Linked DNA regions of Homo sapiens: region 2 is linked to region 1. Evidence: promoter capture Hi-C in human tissues and cell types (Jung and others, 2019). All regions are on one chromosome and are shown on one strand. The core of a region is centred on a gene start or on the middle of the fragment in contact, and the rest is flanking DNA. Distances in the headings are between cores, read along the strand shown.

Region 1 (5,066 bases), core at 1,022-3,521:
GCAGTTTTTTCTGATTCTCACAGCAGCTTGGTGAGAAAGGCACACAGTCCCTGCTTTACAATTAGAAGCCTGAGACACAGAGAGGTTAAAAAAAAAATCTTGCCCAAGGTCACCCGGCTGGTAGGGGGCCAGGAAGGACTTAAACCCACGTCTGTGGGTTTGCAGACAGCTGAGCAGTCATGGAGGCTGTGGCTTGGAGTGGGCAGTGTCGCAGGTCAGCTTGTCACCTGGGTCCAAAGGTGGGGAGAGGCCACTCAGGGGTCAGAGGTTGGAGTGGGCGTAGGATTGGGTGGGGCCTTGGGGGACATGGGAGGGCATTGTGGGCAGAGGGCAGGGCTGTGCCTCAGTTTTCCAAGCCTCTTCCTGTGCCACAGTGCCTGCAGGAATGGGGAGCATGGCCAGGAGGTGACGGGCCAGGGGGACTCCCCATTCTACTTCCTGCTGCCCTGGGGAGCACAGGGCCTGTCAGTCTTCCCTAGGCCTCCAGAGTAAGAGGTGAGAGATGGAATAGGTGCCCCCAGGCAGAGGACATGACCAGCAATAGTGTACATAGCAGGTGTCGACCAGGTCAGCAGGTACCCAGAGATGAAGAGATGACCACTTTCTCCAAGGGCAGCCAGTCAGCATGCAGGGCCATCAGCATGGGCTGGGGTGAGTGGCGTGTTCCTTCTTCAGCAAGACAGGGAGAGGAAGCCGGATAGGAGGCAGCTACTGACGTTGACATGCCCACCTCCTGTAGACCCACCCGGCCCTTGTTCCTGGAGGCAACCAGTTTGGGGCTTGGCTCTCGGGTATCTGGGGAGCAGGACACTAGGGCTATCTCAGGCTCTGTGCCCTGACCCCACCCTTGCCCAGGCCCTGGCAGGAGAGAAATGGGGCAGTCTGTGTGCCTCTCCAAACTGTTGGCCCCTTTTCTGGCAGTTGTGCAGTTATCGTGGCCAGACAAGGCAGGGTCAGGTCTTGCCAGCCAAACCCTGATCCCACTCATAGGTCTGCCACTTCTTTGCTGTGTGACCTTGGGCAAGTCAGTCAACCTCTCTGAGCCTCCATATATAAATGGGAGAAACAGCAGTGCCTACTGCACAGGCAGTTGCAACGATAATACATATAATCTTCATGGATTTGGGAGCATAGGCACGCAGCAGCCCCCTTCTCTCTGTGGCTCCTGCTCTCCCAGCCTTGGGCCCCCTCCTCTGCTTCCCTCTCTGGCCTATTTCCTCTCCTCCTGTGCACTTCTTGGCCTTTCTTCTCCTCTGCTCACTCCACCTGCAGGCCTCGGGCGAGCTCGCCACCCAGATCCTTGCTGCCCAGGAGAACAGGGCACGGAGCCTGAGATAGACCTAGTGTTCTGCTCCCCAGAGACCCGAGAGCCAAGCCCCAAACTGGTTGCCTCTGGGAACGAGGGCCGGGTGGGTCTACAGGAGGTGGGCATGTCAATGTCAGCAAGCTGCCTCCTAGCCCCGCTTCCTCTCCCTGGTGGTCTGGAGCCCCTGGCAGCAGGGTGAGGGTGGGGAGGGCAGAGCTGGTGTGTGCCTGACCATACCCCTGGCCCTGCTATCTGCCCAGGGCCCCTGGCCCCCGGCCCCCAAACTCCATTTTCAGCATGTGGGGAAACCCCCTGTATCTGCGTGGGCAAGGTGGGATTTTCATCCCTGGTGGGTGGAGAAGGAGCAGCCCCTTGAAGCAGGGTGATAACCCAAGTTGCCCCAGAAAGCAGCAGCTCCCCAGGCCTCCACAAGGTTAAGCGATGGAACCTTCCTAATGGGAAGGCTGGGCGTGGGGGTCTGGTCCCCAAGATGTTGGGCTTGGGGCCCTCTCGGGCCCTCCATACTCCCCAAGGTGTGGGTCAAGGGCTCTAGCTGTCTGGGCAGTGCCCATGCACCCTGCCCTGCCCCGCATTGGTAAGCTGTGCATGTCTGTGACGACCCTGTGTGTACCTGACATGGGTGAGTCTGTACGTGTGGTCTCGGCTTTTGTATTCGGAGGATCCCGTGTGAGCTGCAGCTGTTGGCGTGTGCCTATGTGCTGGGGGCGGATGCAGGGGCTGGGGACCATCAAGGATGATGTGTGGCTGGGGTGGGAGGAGCAGTGACAGGGCTGGGGCAAGGAGGACTTCAGAAGCCAATTGGAGCCAGGCTTGTCTCCCAGCAGCCAATATGGGAGCTGGGGCTCCTGGTAAGCGAGTGGCTGCTCAGAAACCCTGCGGGGAGGAGGGGCTAGCTAGGCTGGGCCAGGATCCCTGTATAAATGGCCCAGGAGCTGTGCCCCATCACAGAGCCGACCATCTCCCACTCGAGCTGCCCCCGCCCTCTGGACCCGAGTGACTCAGGCCTTTGTTTGTCCTTCCTGGTAGAGGCGGGTTCCCTCCCTCGGCAAGATGCCGGAGTGCTGGGATGGGGTGAGTGAGGGCGCTGCGGGCATCAAGGTGGGCCGGGAGGATGGTGCATCCTTATGACCCACCGCAGGGAGGAAGTGCCCCCCTCAACCCACATCTGGTGGCAGCCCGGCCTTCAAATAGCCTCACCCTGGGGTCACTGAGACACGGCCAGAGTGCTCCAGGTTCCCTGGTGATCCTGTTTGCAGGAGTGGCTGGGGGCAGCTGCTAGTCAGAGCCCATAGCAGGGGCTGGGGGGAGCGTGTGGTTGGGGGGTGGGTGACATATCTGCAGGAAATGGAACGTGGAAGGCACTGTCTGACTTGGCTGCATTGCCCGTGTGGACCCGGGCGCTAGTGCCTGCATGTCCCTCTGACCGTGTGCCCTCTGGTGTGCGCTTGGATGGTGTCTGCCTTGGTGATGCCTGGGGCCATCAGGCCAGGGGGCGGGGGTGTCCTTGGTGAGCCCCCGAGGCTGTGTGCCCAGTGTGCGTGCCGGGTCTGTGCGTGCAGGGGCTGCCGTCCCAGTGGGCGGCCGTCTAGCTTGTTTGGATGGCTGCGCCAGTGTGATGGGAAGGACAGGCGGCCTCTTCCTTAGGAGCCACCTCACAGTTCCCAGGGCTCTGCTGCGCCAGCCGGGCAGAGGCAAGGAGGTCTGGGCCACACAGGAATGACAGCCTTTCAGGCAGGGGTCCCTGCTGGGGAGGAACGAGGAGGGGTTGCCTGCCTGCCTTATTTTGTAGGTGGGGGAAGGCAACGCTGGAGCCGTGAAGCTGGCAGGGCTAGGGGACCCCAGGTGGAGCCCAGGGCACCTCCTCTCGCCGGGGCATCAGGTACCCCGGCCCCATTCTTCCTCAGGAGGGAGAGGCAGGGGCAGACTCACCCCCACCCCCGGGCCCCACACGCCTGCCCTGCCGGTTCCGCAGACGATAGGTCACCCCGCACGCACGGAGGTGACGACGTCAGCACCTGCCCGCCCATGCAGACCCTGTCCCCTGAATTATTGATGCGGCTGACAGGCCGAACCACAGCACCACCAGCACCAACTCCCACACCGGCGCAAAGCCCGGCTCAAAGCCCCACTCCCCTCCAGTGCTCAAGGTCACAGGCGAGGGGAGACGGACCGACCGAGAGGAGCCGCCACAGCCCCCTCCCCTGCTGCCGCAGTGCTTCCCGCCTGCGCCTACCTGGAGGCGGGGCCGGCTCTGACGTCACCCAGAGCCAATGGGAGTGCTCGGCCCTGAGGGTTGGGGGCCTCAGAGTGCACCGCGCTGTGGCCCTTGTGGGGCTGCCCTTGCGCAGCGCTCCAAGGGACGGGGATGTTTGGCTTCGATCAGGCTGAACTGAGTCCTGAGCTCTCCGCAGAGGGTGAGAGAAGGCGTTAGGGAGGTTCGCAGCAGGGTTCAGCGAAGGTCACTGGACTTCGTAGGACAGGTAGCCCGGTGACGCCCAGGCCCAGCCCCAGCCCTTCCCATCCTGGGAGATGAGCCCTAGTAGAGCCTGATCACGTCACCTCAGGGGGATGGGGACAGGGGCGGCCACACCAGGGCTGGGAGAAGACAGTGGGGCCTCCTCAGCAGCAGAGAGCAGACACCCCTCACACCCCTCAGGCGGACCCGCACGCTGCGGGTCTGGGTTTGGAAGGCACCGCCCTGGGCTCTCGACGTCTGACCCCAGGAGGATAACTGTCCTTTATGCAGCAGGAGGCGCATTGCAGTTCTTTTGCAGCCCCACCCTCCAGAGCTGAGAGAACTCACAGGTGGCTGTGAAAGGGCTGCCTGGTCAGGAGCTCCCTCGGGTGGAACCTGATCTCCTGTGAACATGCAGCCTTCAGTGCACCGCCCTGGCCCCTGAGACTGGCACCTGGCAGGGCCTGCCCTCCCTACTCTGGGATTGACCTTGGGCAAGTCATTTCCCTTTCCTAGCCTCAATTTCCTCCTCTATGGCTTGGGCCTATGTGGGAAGTAAATGAGAAAACTGTGGGTCAGTGGTCAGTGGCGGGGAAGTGTTCCTGGATTTGATGGGCCCCGAGAAAGGATAGGCCTGGGATGGGAGGGGCTGTGTGGTCTGTCCCCTCTCAGCCCTGGTGTGGCCTCCTCATCCCCTGGGTGGTGCAATCAGCCGCATGGCTCACCCTAAGGCTCATTACCTGGGCTCTCCTGGAGGACAACAGGGAAATAAAAAGGGCCTGCAAGTCAAAGAGTGTTCTCCAGGGTAGAGCCTTTGGCCACCAGGTTGGTGCCAGCTTGTCACTCCACACTGGAGACACAGGCCTGGACAGTGGTCCTCTGAGACCAGACCCACTAATGCTGGCCCCTGAGCAGCTGTCTTCTGCTGTCTAAATCTCCTTTCCCATTTGGAGGCAGGAACTCAGGTTCTTTCTAAACCAAAGTGTCCTCACCTGCAAAACAGGGACTAGGGTTCCTGTCTCTTGGGTAACATGCAGGAAGCCTGGCACACAGTAGGTGCTCAGTCGCTTGATGTTTCTTTCATGTCCTTGACCCCAGCCCCACCTCCAACTCACTGGGCCACTCACGTGGTTCCCAGGGCTCACAATGATGCAGAGAGGATCGGTTTATTTAGCTCAGATGGCCCCTCTTGAAGTTTGCCCATCCGAGTGGCTAAGAATGCCCAGTTTGCAAAGGAACAGCGAGAAGGGCATTCTCCCAAGGCTCAGGGATGCCCTAGCATAA
Region 2 (5,066 bases), core at 930-3,429, 260 kb before region 1:
ATTCACATACTTAACAATTCACCCACTTAAAGAGTAAATTCAGTGACTGTTACTATATTCAAAAGTTGTGCATCTATCACCCCAGTCAATTGTAGAACGTTTTTCTTACCCCAGAAGAAACTCCACATGCCTTATTCATCACTTATCCCTCATTTTCCCTATCCCGGCCATAAACAACCACTAATCTATTTCTTGTCTCCATGTATCTGCTTATTTTTGACATTTCATATACATAAAATCATACAATATGTGGTCCTTTGTGATTTTCTTTCTTTTTACTTATCGTAATGTTTTCATGCTTTGTCCTTGTTGTATGTATCCATACTTCATTCGTTTTTTATTGCCAAATAATATTACATTTTATAGATACAACATTTGTTCATCTGCTCATCAGTTGATAGGCATTTGTGTCTTTTTGGTTAGTTTAAATAATACCACTGTGCACATTCATGTACAAGTTCATGCATGGATATGTGTTTTAATTTCTTTTGAGTATATACTAGGAGTAGAATTGGTGGATCACATGGTAACTCTATGTTTAGCCTTTTAGTAACAACCAAACTTTGTTTTCTGAAGGAGCTGCACCATTTTCCATTCCCACCAGCAGTTTATGGGGGTTCCAATTTCTCCACATTCTTACTGATACTTGTTTTTATCTGTCTTTTTAATTATATATTATATGTTCTATTATATATTATGCTTCCATGATGACTAATGATGTTGGGCATCTTTTCATGTGCTTATTGATCACTTGTATATCTTTTTTGGATAAATGTCCATTCAAATCATTTGCTTATTTATTTATTACTTTTTTGAGACGGAGTTTCGCTCTTGTTGCCAGGCTGGAATGCAATGGCGTGATCTCGGCTCACTGCAACTTCCGCCTCCCGGGTTCAAGTGATGTCCGCCACCACACCTGGCTAAATTTTGTGTTTTTAGTAGAGACAGGGTTTCACCATGTTGGCTAGGCTGGTTTTGAACTCCTGACCTCAAGTGATCTGCCCGCCTCAGCCTCCCAAAGTGCTGGGATTACCGGCATGAGCCACTGAGCCTGGCCTATTTGCTTATCTTTTAATTATTGAGTTGTAATAATAGTTCTTTATGTATCCTGGATATAAATCTCTCATCATATATATGATTTGCAATTTTTCTCTCATTCTGTGGATTGTCTTTTCACTTTCTTGATGGTGTTCTATGAAGCACAAAAGTTTTTAATAAGTCCAACTTATCTATTTTTTCTTTATTGCCTTGCTTCTATTTGTTCTTTTTGTTTATATTTCCCTTTTTCTGCCTTCTTTTGGATCCATTCGAATATTTTATAATTCCACTTTATCTCCTTTGTTGACTTAGCTGTATTAGTTTCATAGGCTATTGTGATATATTGCCACAAACTTTGTGGCTTAAAACAACACAAATTTATTCTCTTATAGTTCCAGAGGCCAGAAGTCCAAAATGGGTCTCACTCAGCAGGGCTGTATTTTCTCTAGAGGCTTAAGGGGAGAATTCTCCAGTTTTTAGAGCTTCATTCCTTGCATTCCTTGGCTCCTAGGCCCTCTCCTCCATCTTCAAAGTCCACAGCATAGCATCTTCAAGTCTCTCTCTGCTGAGGTTGTCACATTGCTTTCTCTCTTCTGTAGTAGAATCTCCTTCTGCCTCCCTCTTGTAAGGACACTTGTGATTGCTTTTAGGGCCCACTTACATAATCCAGGATAACCACTCCATTTTAAGACCTTTAACTTAATCGCTAAAATTGTTAAGACCTTTTCCCCCTTTACAAGGTAATATTCATAGGTTCCAATGATTAGAACCTGGATATCTTTGCGGGCCATTGTTCTGTCTACCACATTGTCTAGACATTCAGTCTAGAGTTAAAGCTACTCTTTTAGTTTTATGTCTTTGCTGTGTCATTTTTGTCATTGCTTTGGGGTTTATGGTACATTTCTTTAACTTAGTACAGTCTATCTTCAAGTGTTATTATACCACTTTATGTATAGTATAAGAACTTTATACCATCACACTCCCATTTCTCCTCTACTATCATTGTCATACATTTCACTTATAAACTCTACAATGTAAATGTTTTTTTTTTCTTTCTTTCTTTCTTTTGAGATGGAGTTTTTTGCTCTTGTCACCCTGGCTGGAATGCAATGGCCCGATCTGGGCTCACTGCAACCTCTGCCTCCTGGGTTCAAGCAATTCTCCTGCCTCAGACTCCCAAGTAGCTGAGATTACAGGTATGTGCCACCACGCCCGGCTAATTTCATATTTTTTTTAGTAGAGACAAGGTTTCACCATGTTGGTCAGGCTGATCTCAAACTCCTGACCTCAAGTGATCCACTGGCCTCTGCCTCCCAAAGTGCTGGGATTACAGGCATGAGCCACCGTGCTTAGCTACAATGTAAATGTTGTAAACTCTACAATACATAATTTTTGTTATATAAAGTTATTTATCTTTCAAAGAAAATTAAATAATGAGAGAAATATATTTACTTATCCACTTAGTTACCATTTCTAGTGCTCTTCATTTCTTTGTGTTGATCCAGATTTCCATCTGGTATCATCTTCTTTCTGCCTGAAGGACATCCTTTAACATATCTTGTATAGTGAAGCTCTTCTGGCAACAAATTCTTTCAAGCTTTTGAATATCTGAAAAAAATATTTATTTTGTCTTTATTTTTAAAAGATATTTTTGCTGTGTAAAGTATTCTAGTTTGACAGGTGTTTTTTTTTTTCTTTCAGAACTCTACCAGCTTGAATTGTTACCTACAAGAAATCTATCATTTTAATCCTTGATTCTTTGTATATACTGTGTCTTTTTTTTTTTTCCTGGCTGCTTCTAAGGTTTTCTGTTTATCCCTAGTTGTAAGCAATTTAGTTATGGTATCTTTGGTGTCATTTTCCTCATGTTTATTGTTATATGAGGTTGGTTGAACTTCTTAGATCTATAGGTTTGTAATTTTCATCAAATGTGGAAAAATTCAGCCATTATTTCTTCAAATATTTTTTCTGTCTCCTCCTCACTTCTGAAGACGAGCAGGATCAAGGAAAGACACTACAAAGGAAAATATCAAGAGAAGGCAGTACAAAGGAAAATGTACTAAGCTTCTTACATTTTAGAGATGCACATTTGCATAGTCAGGCCTTTAATCTAGGAAAATAATAACCCAGAGCTTGCTCCATGCCTGGTACCTGGTTAAATGTAATCTCAATGAACTCTTCCAACACCTTAGTGGGAATGGCTTTGGATGGATAGGAGAAGGACTGGGATGGAAAGGAATGAGTAATGATTAAAGGTACAAGCTTTCGGCTCTAGCTCTGCATGTCACCTGCTGTTTGACTGAGTAATTCACATCGCCTCTCTGGCTTTCACTTCCTCACCTATACAAATGAGGTGAGTAATAGTGTAACTGGCCAAGTCCAGCTGCTCACCGCTTGGAGGCCAAAAACACAAGAAGCAAGTTGTGGTGAAAGGAAAGCAACTTTATTCAAATGCTAGCAGTTGGGGAATGGACAGGCCCATGCCTCTGAAAGACCATTCTAACTTTTTGGGCTGAGTGAAGGGGTTTAAGAAGGAAAAAGGTGAGAGAAACGCGGGAGTGGTGCAGCAGGAGGTCTTGTTATCTTGAGTCATCGCCTGTCTGGAGGACCGGTTTGCATCATGCTGACTGCGGTAGTGGTGGGCTAACTGCTCCTAACTCCCCCTAATCAGAGGGTTCCACAGCTGGGTCTCTCTGCCTGGCTTGTTTCAAAATCGATCCCTGGAATTTCTAAGCAAGCACATAATTAGATAAGCGAGTACTGTTCATAGAAGTGGCTGGTGGGAAAAGGCAAAACAAAAAGTTTCAAAGTATGTTTCAAGGCTGGAAGCAAGAAGGGAAAAATGTTTTAAAACGCAGTTTGAGGCTGGGATACTTGGTTACAATAGTACTTATTTTACAGGGTTAGGGGACAAAGCACTCGAATGTTTGCTGTTATTACTATTATTTTTTTGTTTGCCAATATTTGAAATATCCCTCTTCCTTACTAACTCAATTCTTCCTTAACATCGATTAAAGCGATATATGTTGCTCAGCTGTGACAGACTCTACTGATTGAGGATTGAGCCAGGGTCTGTTTATTTCCTTTTTCAGATCCACGTCTCTGGAGCTATCCCTGGGATATGGAGGTTTTCAGGATTAATAACTGGATGAGATACCAGCTCAGATCAGCCTCAGTCTCCTTTTCCCATCTTGCTTTTCTCCCCTCCTCTTCTCCACTCTGTTGCCTCTGGATTTTCCAGGGTAGAGCCCGAGAGCACAAGGGGAGACGTTAAGAGGCAGAGGAGGTCTCACATGACAGCAGTGATTTCGGACTTATGCTCTTGTGACCAGCTTGTGCCCCAAAGCTTCTCACTCCCAAGGCCTACTGTGGGTTCCCTAATGATTCTCCCACTGATGAATCCCACTGATTCCCTGATCCCACAGTGTTTTTTCTTAAGATTCCTCTTGATCTTCTGCATTTTATGATATGCCTCCAGCCTCTTTCTGTGGAGACATCTGACTTGTGAAAATCCTTTATCTTGCCCCATCTTGGTGTCAGAGCAGTCTGCTCCCTGGGAGCCCTTGCCCCTGCCTCCCACTTAGATGTACATATCCCTCCAGCCTCTACTTTTAACTTCTTGGGGCATGAGGCAGATGTCAGCCCCTTGCCCCCAAACTCCAGAGCCTCAATAAGCTCATCTGGTGACAGTCTGGAGACCCCTCATTTGGTATGTGAAACCCCTCCTGTAGTAACCCCTCCTATGCCTTTCCTTACAGAGAAAGTCCACAGTACTAGGACAGCTGTCGCCAAAGGAATTGTCACTTCTCAATGGTGTACCAAGAGCAGGGCAGTGGGAGGTTCTACCTACGGTGTAGGAAATAATTTAGAATTGCAAAGTCCGTAAAGACCTTTAAAACAATAATAAAATCAACCAAAAGTTGGTCTTTTAAAAATTGTTACTGGGTGCTGGCAATTCTAAACAATGACAGCAACAAAATTCTCCTGCCCCTAAAAATCATGTGTGGGTCTAAGTCCTAAATAACTGC

What was found. The method cuts DNA at HindIII sites, captures the fragments that hold promoters and counts their contacts. A contact is called where the count stands out against the background at its distance.
Region 2: a fragment that was not itself captured here is called in contact with the fragment with the promoter of NDRG4 in region 1 in 1 of the 25 tissues and cell types used here (aorta).

Annotation. Positions count from the first base shown.
Region 1 is chr16:58,497,872-58,502,937 of GRCh38, forward strand. It overlaps NDRG4 (NDRG family member 4), which reads left to right and starts at 2,272. Exons shown (of 15, transcript NM_001242835.2): 1 at 2,272-2,398. The coding sequence starts at 2,378. RefSeq lists silencers at 2,101-2,180, 2,191-2,250 and enhancers at 2,130-2,946, 2,947-3,764, 3,765-4,581, 4,174-4,223. The HindIII fragment of the contact is 53,618 bases long and covers 1-5,066 here.
Region 2 is chr16:58,240,264-58,245,329 of GRCh38, forward strand. It overlaps LOC105371293 (a long non-coding RNA gene), which reads right to left. Exons shown (of 4, transcript XR_933630.2): 3 at 2,507-2,646. Among named protein-coding and RNA genes, the nearest start is that of CFAP263, 7.1 kb to the right of the region's middle. RefSeq lists an enhancer at 3,245-3,304. The HindIII fragment of the contact is 3,325 bases long and covers 518-3,842 here.